Linked DNA regions of Homo sapiens: region 1 is linked to region 2. Evidence: promoter capture Hi-C in 16 types of primary human blood cells and fetal thymus (Javierre and others, 2016). All regions are on one chromosome and are shown on one strand. The core of a region is centred on a gene start or on the middle of the fragment in contact, and the rest is flanking DNA. Distances in the headings are between cores, read along the strand shown.

The links. The method cuts DNA at HindIII sites, captures the fragments that hold promoters and counts their contacts. A CHiCAGO score of 5 or more calls a contact.
Region 1: a fragment that was not itself captured here is called in contact with the fragment with the promoter of FIGNL1 in region 2 in 1 of 17 cell types (M0 macrophages); the score reaches 5.5 in M0 macrophages.

Annotation. Positions count from the first base shown.
Region 1 is chr7:51,107,256-51,113,037 of GRCh38, reverse strand. The region is part of intron 6 of COBL (cordon-bleu WH2 repeat protein); the gene reads left to right. Among named protein-coding and RNA genes, the nearest start is that of COBL, 210 kb to the left of the region's middle. RefSeq lists an enhancer at 1,333-1,834. The HindIII fragment of the contact is 1,394 bases long and covers 1,605-2,998 here.
Region 2 is chr7:50,448,870-50,454,819 of GRCh38, reverse strand. FIGNL1 (fidgetin like 1) reads left to right here and starts at 4,470. Exons shown (of 4, transcript NM_001287492.4): 1 at 4,470-4,519; 2 at 5,097-5,702. RefSeq lists silencers at 4,324-4,513, 4,655-4,949. The HindIII fragment of the contact is 8,767 bases long and covers 1-5,950 here.

The DNA of each region.
Region 1 (5,782 bases), core at 1,052-3,551, 660 kb before region 2:
GGATTTTTATCATTTCCGGAAGGTTAAGATGTCTGCAGCTTCCACGTCTTATGGGAGCACATCACCATTAATAAATTTATTTTCGGTTGTAGGAGTTTTTATATTTTGTTTGTGGTTGCCACATATGGGAAGAAGATGATACTTGAGTATGCTTGTCTAAGAAGTGTCTGAAGCTGTTGGCATCAAGAGCACAATTATTATGTTCAAAACAGATCTAGATGGGGCAACTGAAGCTAATGAGAAACCTGATTGTGCCTTCCTGCCTGCAGCGTTGACCTAAGCCCTAGGCACCAGCATTCTTATGCAAGGACCCCAAGGGCCCCTCCTCTGTGGACTGCAAAGCAAGGCCAGACTAGTTTTACTTCTGATGAGACCCAAAGGTGCAAAGGACAGCCGACCCCATGCAAGGCCTAAATGAGGGGAGGATTTCAGCTATTAGTCAAATACTGGTGCTCAGGAAAGAGATCTGTAGAAACTCCCTGAAAGATCTGTGTGCAGAAGTGAATATTGTAACCTATGCATCTGCAGGGACACCCCAACATGAATGGGAGCTTAGAAAGGAAACAGTGCTCATTGATCATGAAGCACTGCTTGCTTCTGGAGGTAACATTGTGTTAATAAGTAGTTTTTAAGTTACATATTAATCATAAACTATATATTTTTAAATGGTCCATATCTTAGAAGTTCTCTGTGGTCCTTTGCTTCCAATGTTTCTTTAGGGCAAAAAATAAAAATAATCCACAGGACACTGAGGAGAGCAATACAATTTCCATCAGTGATGAATTGGAATAGAAATGCTGATGTATAGCAAAGATACTTACTCTATGTACAGAATCTACTTTGTAATCCCACTTCATGGCATTCTAGTTTCTCCTCTCTTATGCTTTTGCAACCATTAAATTGTTTCCAAGCCTTGTACAGTTGACTGTTATGTGTGTGGGAGTCTTTAGTAAAAATAGAAATAGACATCCACCTGAAAATTGCCTGGACTTGTTCTTAGTGGTCCCCGTGCCATGCAAGTGAACTGGATTCCTTTGATGATATTGATGAGGATATTACCTAATCTTCACCTCTTCCTAGGAACACACTTTACCATATGTCCCTGTGAAGTAAGTGTTAAGAGAGTAAAATAAATAAATCGCATTATGTACACAGGCCCTTTCTGCCCAGTCTTGCCATTCAGAAATGCACTCATTTAATCTCCTAGTTGTGAACACTTGCTGGGGCCCATCACATGCCCTGGCTGGCACTGCACAGTGCTGAGCAGCACAGATGGATACAGCTCCTCCTGGTATTGAGGAGGCCCCGTCTAAGAAGATACACAGATGTTACCATGAAGTCAAGGAGCATGCAGGGGCCCAGGCACGGGGGAGAGGCAGCTGTTTCTTTTCTGTGACATGTAGTATTGAGATGGGCCTTGAAGGATGGATGGGTCGTGAGGACAGGACAGTTCAGCGAGAGAGGACACTCCGTGCTGAGGCTGAGGTGGGGCCGGCGGGGAGAATCAGGGCCACTGGAAGAGCAGGATGCCACACTGCACACACCATTTGAGTAGGATCCTGCTTACAATTATGCAGCTAGTGACAGTGAATACAAACCAAGCTTCTTTCCAATGCCAATAATGCCATACTGGCCTCCCATCTGTTCCTCTTGTAGTATGTAAAAGGCCAAGTTAGAAGGGCTTGTTATCAAAGAGAGAAAAAGCAAATGCTGGCAAGGATATGGAGAAAGGGGATGCTTATGCACTCTTGGTGGGAATGTAAGTTAGTATAGCCATTATGAAAAATAGTATGGGGGTTCCTCAAAAACCTAAATGATGCAGCAATCCCACCACTAGGTATTTATCCAAAAGAAATGAAATTAGTATGTTGAAGAGATGTCTGCACCCCCATGTTTATTGCAGCATTATTCACAGTAGTCAAGATATGGTATCACCTTAAAGAACTAAAAGTAGAACTACCATTTGATCCAGCAATCCCACTACTGGGCATCTACCCAGAGGAAAAGAAGTCATTATTCGAAAAAGATACTTGCACACGCATGTTTATAGCAGCACAATTCACAATTGCAAAATCGTGGAACCAACCCAAATGCCCATCGATCAATGAGTGGATAAAGAAACTGTGCTATATACATATGATGGAATACTATGCAGTCATAAAAAGGAATAAATTAACAGCATTTGCAGTGACCTGGATGAGATTGGAGACTATGATTGTAAGTGAAGTAACTCAGGAATGGAAAACCAAACATCGTATGTTCTCACTGATATGTGGGAGCTAAGCTATGAGGACACAAAGGCATAAGAATGATACAGTGGACTTTGGGGACTTGTGGGCAAGAGTGGAAGGTTGGTTAAGGGATAAAAGACAACAAATATGGTGCAGTATATACCGCTTGGGTGATGGGTGTACCAAAACCTCACAGATCACAACTGAAGAACTTATGTAACCAAATACCACCTGTACCCCGATAACTTATTGAAAAATAAAATAAAGATATGGAATCAACCTAAGTGTCCGTCAGCGGATGAATGGTTAGAGAAGATGTGGTATATATACACAATAGAGTACTATTCTGCTATAAAGGAAAAAATGAAATCCTGTCATTTACAGCGACATGGATGGAACTGGAGGCCATTATATTAAGTGAAATAAACCAGGCACAGAAGGAGAAATAATGCAGGTTCTCACTCTTACGTGGGAGCTAAAAAAGTGGATCTCATGAAGGTAGAGAGTAGATTGGTGGTTACCAGAGGCTGCGCAGGGTGGAGGGGAGAGGGAGGAAGAGGGAATGCTTAATGGATATAAAAGTTCAATTAGGTCGAAGGAATAAGTTCTAGTGTTTGGTAGCATAGTCGGATGACTATTGTTAACAATAACTATTGTATAGTTTGAAATAGAAAAGATTTTAAATGTTTACAATACAAAGAAATGCTAAATGTTTGAGGTTAAAGATATCCCAATTACCCTGGTTTGATTATTACACATTGTAAGCTTGTATCAAAATACCACATGTACCCCATAAATATGTACAATTATTATGTATCAATTTTTTTAAAGAAAAAAGAAGAGGCCAAGCAGTTTCCATCCCCTTGCTCTCGCCTGTGTCATTCTTCCTCGTACCTTTGCACAGGTGGCCTGTTTCTTTCACTGCCTCAGCGCTCCATCCTCAGCCACGGAAACATGTGGCTGCCTTTCGTTTCTGTGGAAGGTGGCACTACTAACATGATGCAGTGGTTTCTTTCTGTCTTCCCCTCACGAGACATACATTCTGTGAGTGCAGGGAAGGAGTTTGCTGTCTTTTTTGAGGCTCCCCTTCCTTTGTGGAGAACAGTGCCTGGCATGTAGTCAGTTTTTTTAGTAAAATTTTTGAGAAATAAATGAGTGATCGAGCCTGGTAGCACAGTGGTAACTGACTCTGAGAGACAGAACGACAGAGAGGGAAGAAGCATTTAAGATAACTCAGGCAGGAAATGCAAAGGGCCTGAATAAAAGCAGGGGTAGCCAGGGGTGGGGGGCAAGGAGGGAGATGGGATTTTAGGACTGTCACAGCAAGAACTGAGGTGCTTCAGGAGCAGTGCAGTGAAGGTGGCGAGCGAGATGGAAGTGGCAAAGAATCCAACCTTTAAAGATTATCCAGAAGGGTCCGCAGATGCAGATGATGATGCAGAACCAGTTGGAGCTGAAATGTCTACAGGAACCGCACTGGCAGTTGTCTGGAGCTCACAGGGTGGTGCATTCACACAGGTGGTTTGAAAATGACCACCAGTAGGTGGTAGTTGGGGAAATAAGAATGGATGAAAACCAGAGATGAAGAGAAGAGGCAGCCCTGCGGAGCACCATGCCCAGGATGGGGAGCAGCCCGAGAGTGTGCAGAAACTCGCATAGTGCAAGGAGGGAAGAGGCTGCCTGGTGGGAACTCACAGGACCTTTGGATGTGACCATCAGAACACTGGGCCATTCACACAGGTGCCACACTAGGCAGGAGGCCAGTGGCAAGGAAGGTGGGGTGACCGAGACTAAGGAAAAGGAAGTTGAAGTGGAACCAGTTCTTTCAGTAAACTTCATGGGGCAGGGGGTGTGTGTGTGTGTGTGTGTGTGTGTGTGTGTGTGTGTGTCTATGTGTCAGTGTGTGTATCTTTGTGTGACGGCTCCATGATGGGAGAAGTAGGCAGGTGTCTTTGATAAGGAGGTACTGGAGAGCTATACAAGAGCTCAGGGTGACCTCCCCAAGGCTGGCTCCAGCGCCCCAGGGAGGGCTGAGTTTGGGGGAAGCAGCTTTCCTTTGGAGAATGGGGCCCAGTGTCTGAGAGCTGGCTCCTGCCTGGGACCTCCACTTTTTCTGAGTTATGGGGTAAGATCATCTGCTAACAGGGAAGGGAACGAAGGTGGAGTAACCCAGGAGGCCACAGGATGGGAATACATGTTTGGAATTTGCAGATGGGAAAAGCAAACAGAAGGAATGAGAATAAGGATTTCTAAACAATCACTTTGCAAAACTGTTTGCCAGCGACTTCAATAGCTGGTCACACACCCCATGACCCAAGCACCTCCAACTGTGTGCACCTCCAACAGTTGCACCAAGCCATGCACGTGAGTATTCACAGCAGCACTGTTGACAGCATCCCCAGGCTCACCCCAACCGAATCCCTTTCCACAGTCCAGCACATAAAGCGTGGTGTATTCACACCGAGTGCCACTGCACAGCAACGAGCCACACAGCAGCGGATGAGCCTCAGAGCAAAAGAAGCCAGATATCATGATACAAAGCCCCAAAACAGGCAGAGCCAGCCTCCACTCATGCCACCAGGAGAGTGGCTGCTGTCAGGAGAGGGTGGGGAATCAGAATGTTGGCCCGAGGATCCTTGGTGAGCTTGGCCCACAGTGGCAGGGAAGAGGAACAGAGTTAGGAGTGCTGGAGGCTGGAAGCGTGGCCTCTGGGTGAGCCCTGGATCTGACTTAGAGGCACCAGGCAGGATGGAAACATGTAGGCAGTGGAATATTCTCTTTTCCTCTGAAGACATACTCCAGGTTTCTGCTGAGGGAGAGGGTGGGCTGCAGGAAGGATGACACTGCAGGAGGAGGAAGAATCAGTGGGAAGTGGTGGCTGCTAGCAGGACACCCATTCTCTTGGACTGGGGGATATTTTGCTGCAAGTGGCAGATGCTATTAAATCTCTTGGCTTGATTTACATATCTTCCTTCCTGTTTATTAAGGAGATTCCCTGCTGCTTTGGCATCTTGTATTCCCCAGGGGACTGTGAGGTGGATCCTGTCCTGTGCCTCTAAGGGCCTCTTTGGGTTCTGCTCTCTCTGGGTCCTGAGTGCAGCCCGGGTACGGAGAGGTGAGAGGTCTGCCCATGGTATGTTGGTACTGGTGATTGGCAACTTGTATACATGCACCAGTGTACAATTTTAAAAGAAGCAGTATCTTCCCACATTATTTTAAAAAAGTAAAAAGATTATAAACGTCTGCACATATTTCTAGCTAAAACAATTTTAGCAGAAAAATTAATCCTTAACAAATATTGATATTTACTGAAGTGGGAATATGAAACCATGTAGTTGTATAATATTTACTGAACTGGGATATACATATTGGAAAATATGAAGAGATCTCCATGTTAAAACCTCTATTTAAAAATACTAGGGCTGGGTGTGGTGGCTCACACCTGTAATCCCAGCACTTTGGGAGGTGGGCAAATCACGAGGTCAGGAGTTCCAGACCAGCCTGACCAATATGGTGAAACCCCGTCTCTACTAAAAATACAAATATTAGCT
Region 2 (5,950 bases), core at 3,221-5,720:
CATCACTCCAATCTCTGCCCCCATCTTCACATGGCCTTCTTCCCTCTGTGACTCTTTTCCTTTTCTTTATAAGGACACCAATCAATCAGATGAGGGCCCACCCTAATCCAGAAGGACCTCATCTTAACTGGATTATGGCTGTAACAACCCTCTTTCCAAATAAGGCCACATTCACAGGTGCCAGGGGTTAGGGCTTCAACATATCTGTTTGGGGGATGCAATTCAACCCCTTACATACTGTACCAAACTGGAGGCACCTAGAAGTGTTGACTCCAATTGGTAGCGCAGTCCTTGAGGAAAATGACGACCCAAGCAAATGTTTCCTTCAATCTCTGCTCTACCCCGTTTCAGGTGCTATAGAAAAATTACGGGAGGGCATTGTTTTAGAGTGAGCTCCTGCACTAGGTCCCAACAGACCAAACTAAAGTGGAGTCACTCATGCTAAGTGCCATTTAACCAAGCTGAAACTTTAAGAAAGCTGGTGGTCCCCAAATAGACCAGTTTTTCTTGAAAACAAGAGTCACAGCAACCCATCAGAAAGAGTTCAGTCTGCCTGAGTCAGAGTAATAAGGAAGTCCCATTTGCTTTAACCATGACGAGAAAAGTAGTCTGAATTAAGCTGACACTAACCAATCAACCTTTAAAATAATACTGTTTCCTTGTTCCCACCTTACAAAACCACTGTTCTGCCATTCCCCAGTGGGAACTCTAATTCTATTTTATAGAATGGAGGCTACTGGATTCATGAATCATGAATAAAAGCCAATTTGATCTGTAAATAATTTTGTCTTTTGACACCAGGAGAACACCACCTCCCCCCTCACCAGCTGTGTTTATGACAATGATGCCAGAGGTAGCCTCTTCACATCCCTTTATGATTCATTCAGTATGGCCAATGAAAATCTTTTACTAAAATTGTGCACTTGCTTCACCCTGGGCTCACACATCTTACTCCTCTGCTGGAGGGCTAGAACACCATCCCCTCAATCCTGGTACTTTTTTCTTCCTTACCACTGAGTCAGGGAGCTGAGAGGTTTGGAAGTCAGTGGGAATCCACACAGAGAAAGAACTGGATTTAGATTGGGCTGTTTTCCCTCTGAGCTTTGTCCTGTTGGCTTCCCTATCTCCTCAACACCACCTGCCTCCCGCACCCACCGACACACACATCTCCAGAATGTAACTCTCCTGGCTGACAGGGAAGCACATTATTTAGGGCCGTATTATCCCCTCTGCTCAAAAACAAATGAGCTCACCGAAGTGTACACTTGCATTTATCTGAGACCATGTTTATAAAATTCATGAATATGGAAATGGGCAGCCATCTCCCAGAATCCCTCACACCAAGAGAACTGGCACTGTCTGCTGTAGGTGAAAACCTCTTCCCTTGAAGGCTCAACAACTTCTACCCAGAAGAAGAAAAGAACAGCATATTCTTTCTCATACACACACACAAACACACACACACACACACACGCACACAGTATATACCACCAGTCTGTGGTCTTGGAAGCAAAGTTTAATAATTGAATAGCTCAAGCACTAAACTCTTACATATTATTAAGATACTATCCTAATATGTCTCATTTGTCAAAGATGGAAAAGTTTTGATATGACATAAGGGTTTCAATCCCAATAGGAATATTAATGGTAACAATAAAAATAACATAGCAACACGGTTTCTGTTGAATGCCTGCCACATGCCAGCAACTGCTTTGATAATTAAAGAATTATATCTTATGTTGATTATAATCCTTATAATGGCTTCCTGGGTAAGAAAGGTTTATTACTGTTTTACATTTGAGGAGGAGACTAGGGTTCAGAGAGGGTGCAGAAGTGAGTTACACTTTTGCCAACCAGGCCAGAAGATGAAAGCCGCTGGATTGGGAAATGCTTTTGTATCAAAAGCACAAAATGAAGTGGCTAGTGTTACTTGTTGGAAAAAAATTAACTTTGGCAAGCATAAATATAATTCAGTATTTGAGCAATACTTTTAGGAGGGTAACAGAGTGGTTTATGTGAATTCTCCAAAATGCCATCATGAAAATTTTGATGATGAAAATCACCTAAAATTGCTAATTACCTGTCTTAGCCTGTCTAGGGCTACAAAGTACCATATGCTGAGTGGCTCATAAACAATAGAAATTTATTTCTCACAGTGGAGGCTGGAAGTCAGAGTGCCAGAATGGTCGAGTTCTGGTGAGGGCTCTTCCAGGTTGCTGTCAACTCTTTGCATCCTTAGGTGGTGGCAAGAGGGCTAGAAAGTTCTTTGGAGTCTCTTTTATTGTATTTTATTTTTTGGAGACAGTCTCACTCCGTCCCCCAGGCTGGAGTGCAGTGGCGCGATCTCAGTTCACTGCAACCTCCACCTCCTGGGTTCAAGCAATTCTCAGGCCTCAGCCTCCTAAGTAGCTGGGATTACAGGTGCCCACCACAACACCTGGCTAATTTTTGTATTTTTAGTAGAGACAGGGTTTTGCCATGTTGGCCAGGCTGGTCTCGAACTCCTGACCCCAGGCGATCCACCTGCCTCGGCCTCCCAAAGTGCTGGGATTACAGGCATGAGACACTGCACCCAGCCTCTGGAGTCTCTTTTATAAGGATACTTACTATTCTCATCCATGAAGTCTCCACTCTCATGACCTAATCACCTCACAAAGGCCCCGCCCCTTAAAACCATCACATTGGGCTTAGGATTTCAACATACAAATTTTGGGGGGACATAAACTTTCCATCCCTAACATTACCCAAATAGTATCTATATAGTCATTTCTAAATATACACGTATTTAGAAATTTCTAAATAGCCAGTAAACATACAACTGACTTGGCCTTGATATAACTGTTTTCATTTTCTTTTATTTTCATTCTACATGACATATTTTGGGTAATTATAAAATAATTAAAATTAGTTGATAAAGTATGGAATTAGAATAAAATAATTTTCTATTACTATCTAAGCCATGAAATGAATTAGGAGATGCTGTTTTCAGTGAAACGTCTTCTAGTTTTTAAAGTGCATTGTCCAATTCCTTTTTATTTTGTGAAGATTTTAAAAACTTAAAAAAAGTCTTCAAATTGTTTGTGCCTTGCATTTCTTTAAATCTTATGTTTAAACATCATGTGCTGCTAGTTGCTAGTCATTTTCTCTATCCCCTGCCCCAGACCCTCTCTTTCTCAGGAAAGGATATCCAGGGATCCGGGTCCCAGTTAGTCAAGGAGATATAAGAGGAAGGCTATGAGGCTTTCTGGGAAACATTTTCTTTTTCCAAGAGAGAAGTGTTCAGAGGGAAAAGGTCCTTTCTCAGTTTGGCTCCCTCTTTGTGTTTTAGATCTGGTCATGTGAGGCTGCCTGGCTTGGATTGTGAGGGCATCTCTCGACAATGAAGTGACAAGCCTGGGGAGGAAAATCCACAGGCGAGAAGGTGGCAGAATGGAGAGATGGTCCTTCATGACTTCTTTGAGTCACCAGGTCCAGATTTCCCGCCAACCTCCAGTCTTCTTGTTATGTGATCTGATATCATTATTTACTGCAGAGGCCACTGAGTGGATGCTCTTACTTGTGTCTGAAAATCCAATTCACTAAATTAATCAAAATACGGCACTCTTCTTTTGAAACCTTGCTCCAGAACAAAGTGGAAGGTAATGATGGGGTGCTTTTCAAAGTTCCAGGGAGGTGTCCCTACACAGCAGACAGCTGTCCAAAGGAATGTAGATGTTGGCTGCGGGGAGATCTGAGTTGCCAGACTCAGTCAGAACAGGTGTCCTCTCCCTTATTTTATCTTAAACATGCATGTCATTTTTGCATGCTACTCTATGCGGTTCTTTCAGCCAGGGAACATTGCTGAGCACCCGCTCACGTGCTGTATGGAGCGCAGACTGCAGGGTGCGAGGGGCGGAGGTGATGTGCTAGGCCTGAATTCAAGAGGGGGCGCAGCCACAGGCCCCGCGATGCCGGGGTGGCCTCTTGTAACGACGTTTTAACCGCTGACCTAAGTGGATCCGCTCCTCTCCCGCCGCCCGCTCCCTGCCTGCAGCACAGGATGGCGGCTGGCTTTCCCGAGTGGGCGCAGGTGAGCCACGCTTGCTCTCCCGGGTGGGCGCAGGTGAGCCATTGTTTGCTCTCCCGGGTGGGCGCAGGAGAGCCACGCTTTGCTCTCCCAGGTGAGCCGCCGCTCGCTGTCCCGGTGAGGGGAAGTGAGCCACGCTCTATGGGAATCCTTCGAATCTTCATTCAATTTCCATCGCCTCCTTGTATTTATTTGGGAGTACTTTTAAAAATGAAGCCTATGCACAATGATGTAATAAGCGTTTATAGAACACCACTGGTCGGAGCTAGGGCCTAGGTGGCGGTGCCCGGGCCCAGGTGCCGCGCCCACGCCCCGCGCGCCGAACGCACGCACGCACGCACTCACGCACTCACGCACGCACGTACGGCGCGAGTCCGAGGGCGACAGCAGCGCGCAGGCGCACGTCAGTCCCCGCGCTTTTCGGAGGCTGCCAGCGTCCCACACCAGCCGCAGGTAGGATGCGGTGACGGGAGGCGGGGCAGGGGCGCTGCTGACCCCTGTGGAGCATCAGGGTTGGGGCGTAGGGGAGAGGCGGGCGTGTGCCTCTGGAATGCTGGGGGTCGCGGGGCGGTGACTTCGCGGGAGGCCGTGGGAGGCGGGAGCCAGGCAGTGGCTGTGCCCTTTTGCTTCTGTCTTAGCGGGAGGGTGGCTGACCCGCTAGCCCAGAACCAGACTCATCCAGGATTAGGAAGCTGGGGCCCGGCGTGGACGGCAGGCTCGGGGCCAGGTCTGCGGGCGGCTTCCTTTGGCAGAGCCTGTCCGGGGGCGGGGCCGCTTACCGCAGGCATTTACTGGGCCCAGCGGGGCTCTGGGCGCCCACAGCGGGGGTCAGTCAGTTCCCCTGTGACCCAGGCAAGCTCTTAATCTCTGTGATGAGAAAGAAGGGCTCATACCTTTCAGGGGTCATCGTGAGGAATCAGAAGAAGCAGTATTTTATAGAGTATTTTCTAAGTGCTGAGTCCTCTGTCTAGTGCTTTGCAGAATTAAAATACCTTGTCAGCTCAGTGATGTTGCTGCGCTTCTTTTATAGGTGAAAACCGGCAGAAAGACATTAAGAGATTTTCCTGCAGTCACTGCTGGCAGATGATAGAGCCAGGATTTGAAAGCAGGCAGCCTGGCTCCAGACCCTGTGCTCTTAACTCCCGTTTTGCATCAAGAACAGAATCCTATGAAAGGCTTGCACAGTGCTTGGTACTGAGTAGGCACTCCGTCAGTATTTTAGTAGCTATTATTCCAAAGGACACTGTATTCTAGGTACTAAGACAATGTGAATGGAATGGAAAACAATTCCTCCCTGCAGAAGCCAACTGTCTAGGAAGACAGATAATGACATTATTAAAATAATCAGAACATTGGCAAAATAAAGAAGATTGAAATGCAGTTCATATGACAGTGCTAATTAATCATACTTTTTAGATCTAGGAAAGGCCATAAAGGTTAAATTGACTTGGAAATGGTAAACAAGACAATGGTTGTGTCACTGATCGGTGATGGCCAGTTTTTGGTTATCCTTATTTGCCATTTAAATGATTGAATTGAAAGGAAGAAGTAAGACTTGGAAGATGAATATTGAAGGAAAGGTGAAGATGGAAAAGAGAAGGGGGTTTATTCTGAGAACAGTGACTAGAACTCTGAGGTATGGTAGAAATTTCAGGATAACAGATGATAAAGGGGAATGAAGCCATGGAGAGGAAGAGAATGATAATATTAATTGTGAAAGTTTGTGTCAAGTGTTTTCTGAGTCACCTTTCTTTCAGTTTCTCATTTCTAGTATTGTATAAATGAGTTTAACATCAAAATGGTATAGTGAAAAAAAGGATGAACTGCTTGACAGAAGAGGTCAGATCTAGTTTTGACTCTAGCTTATTTAGCTTTACAGCTTTA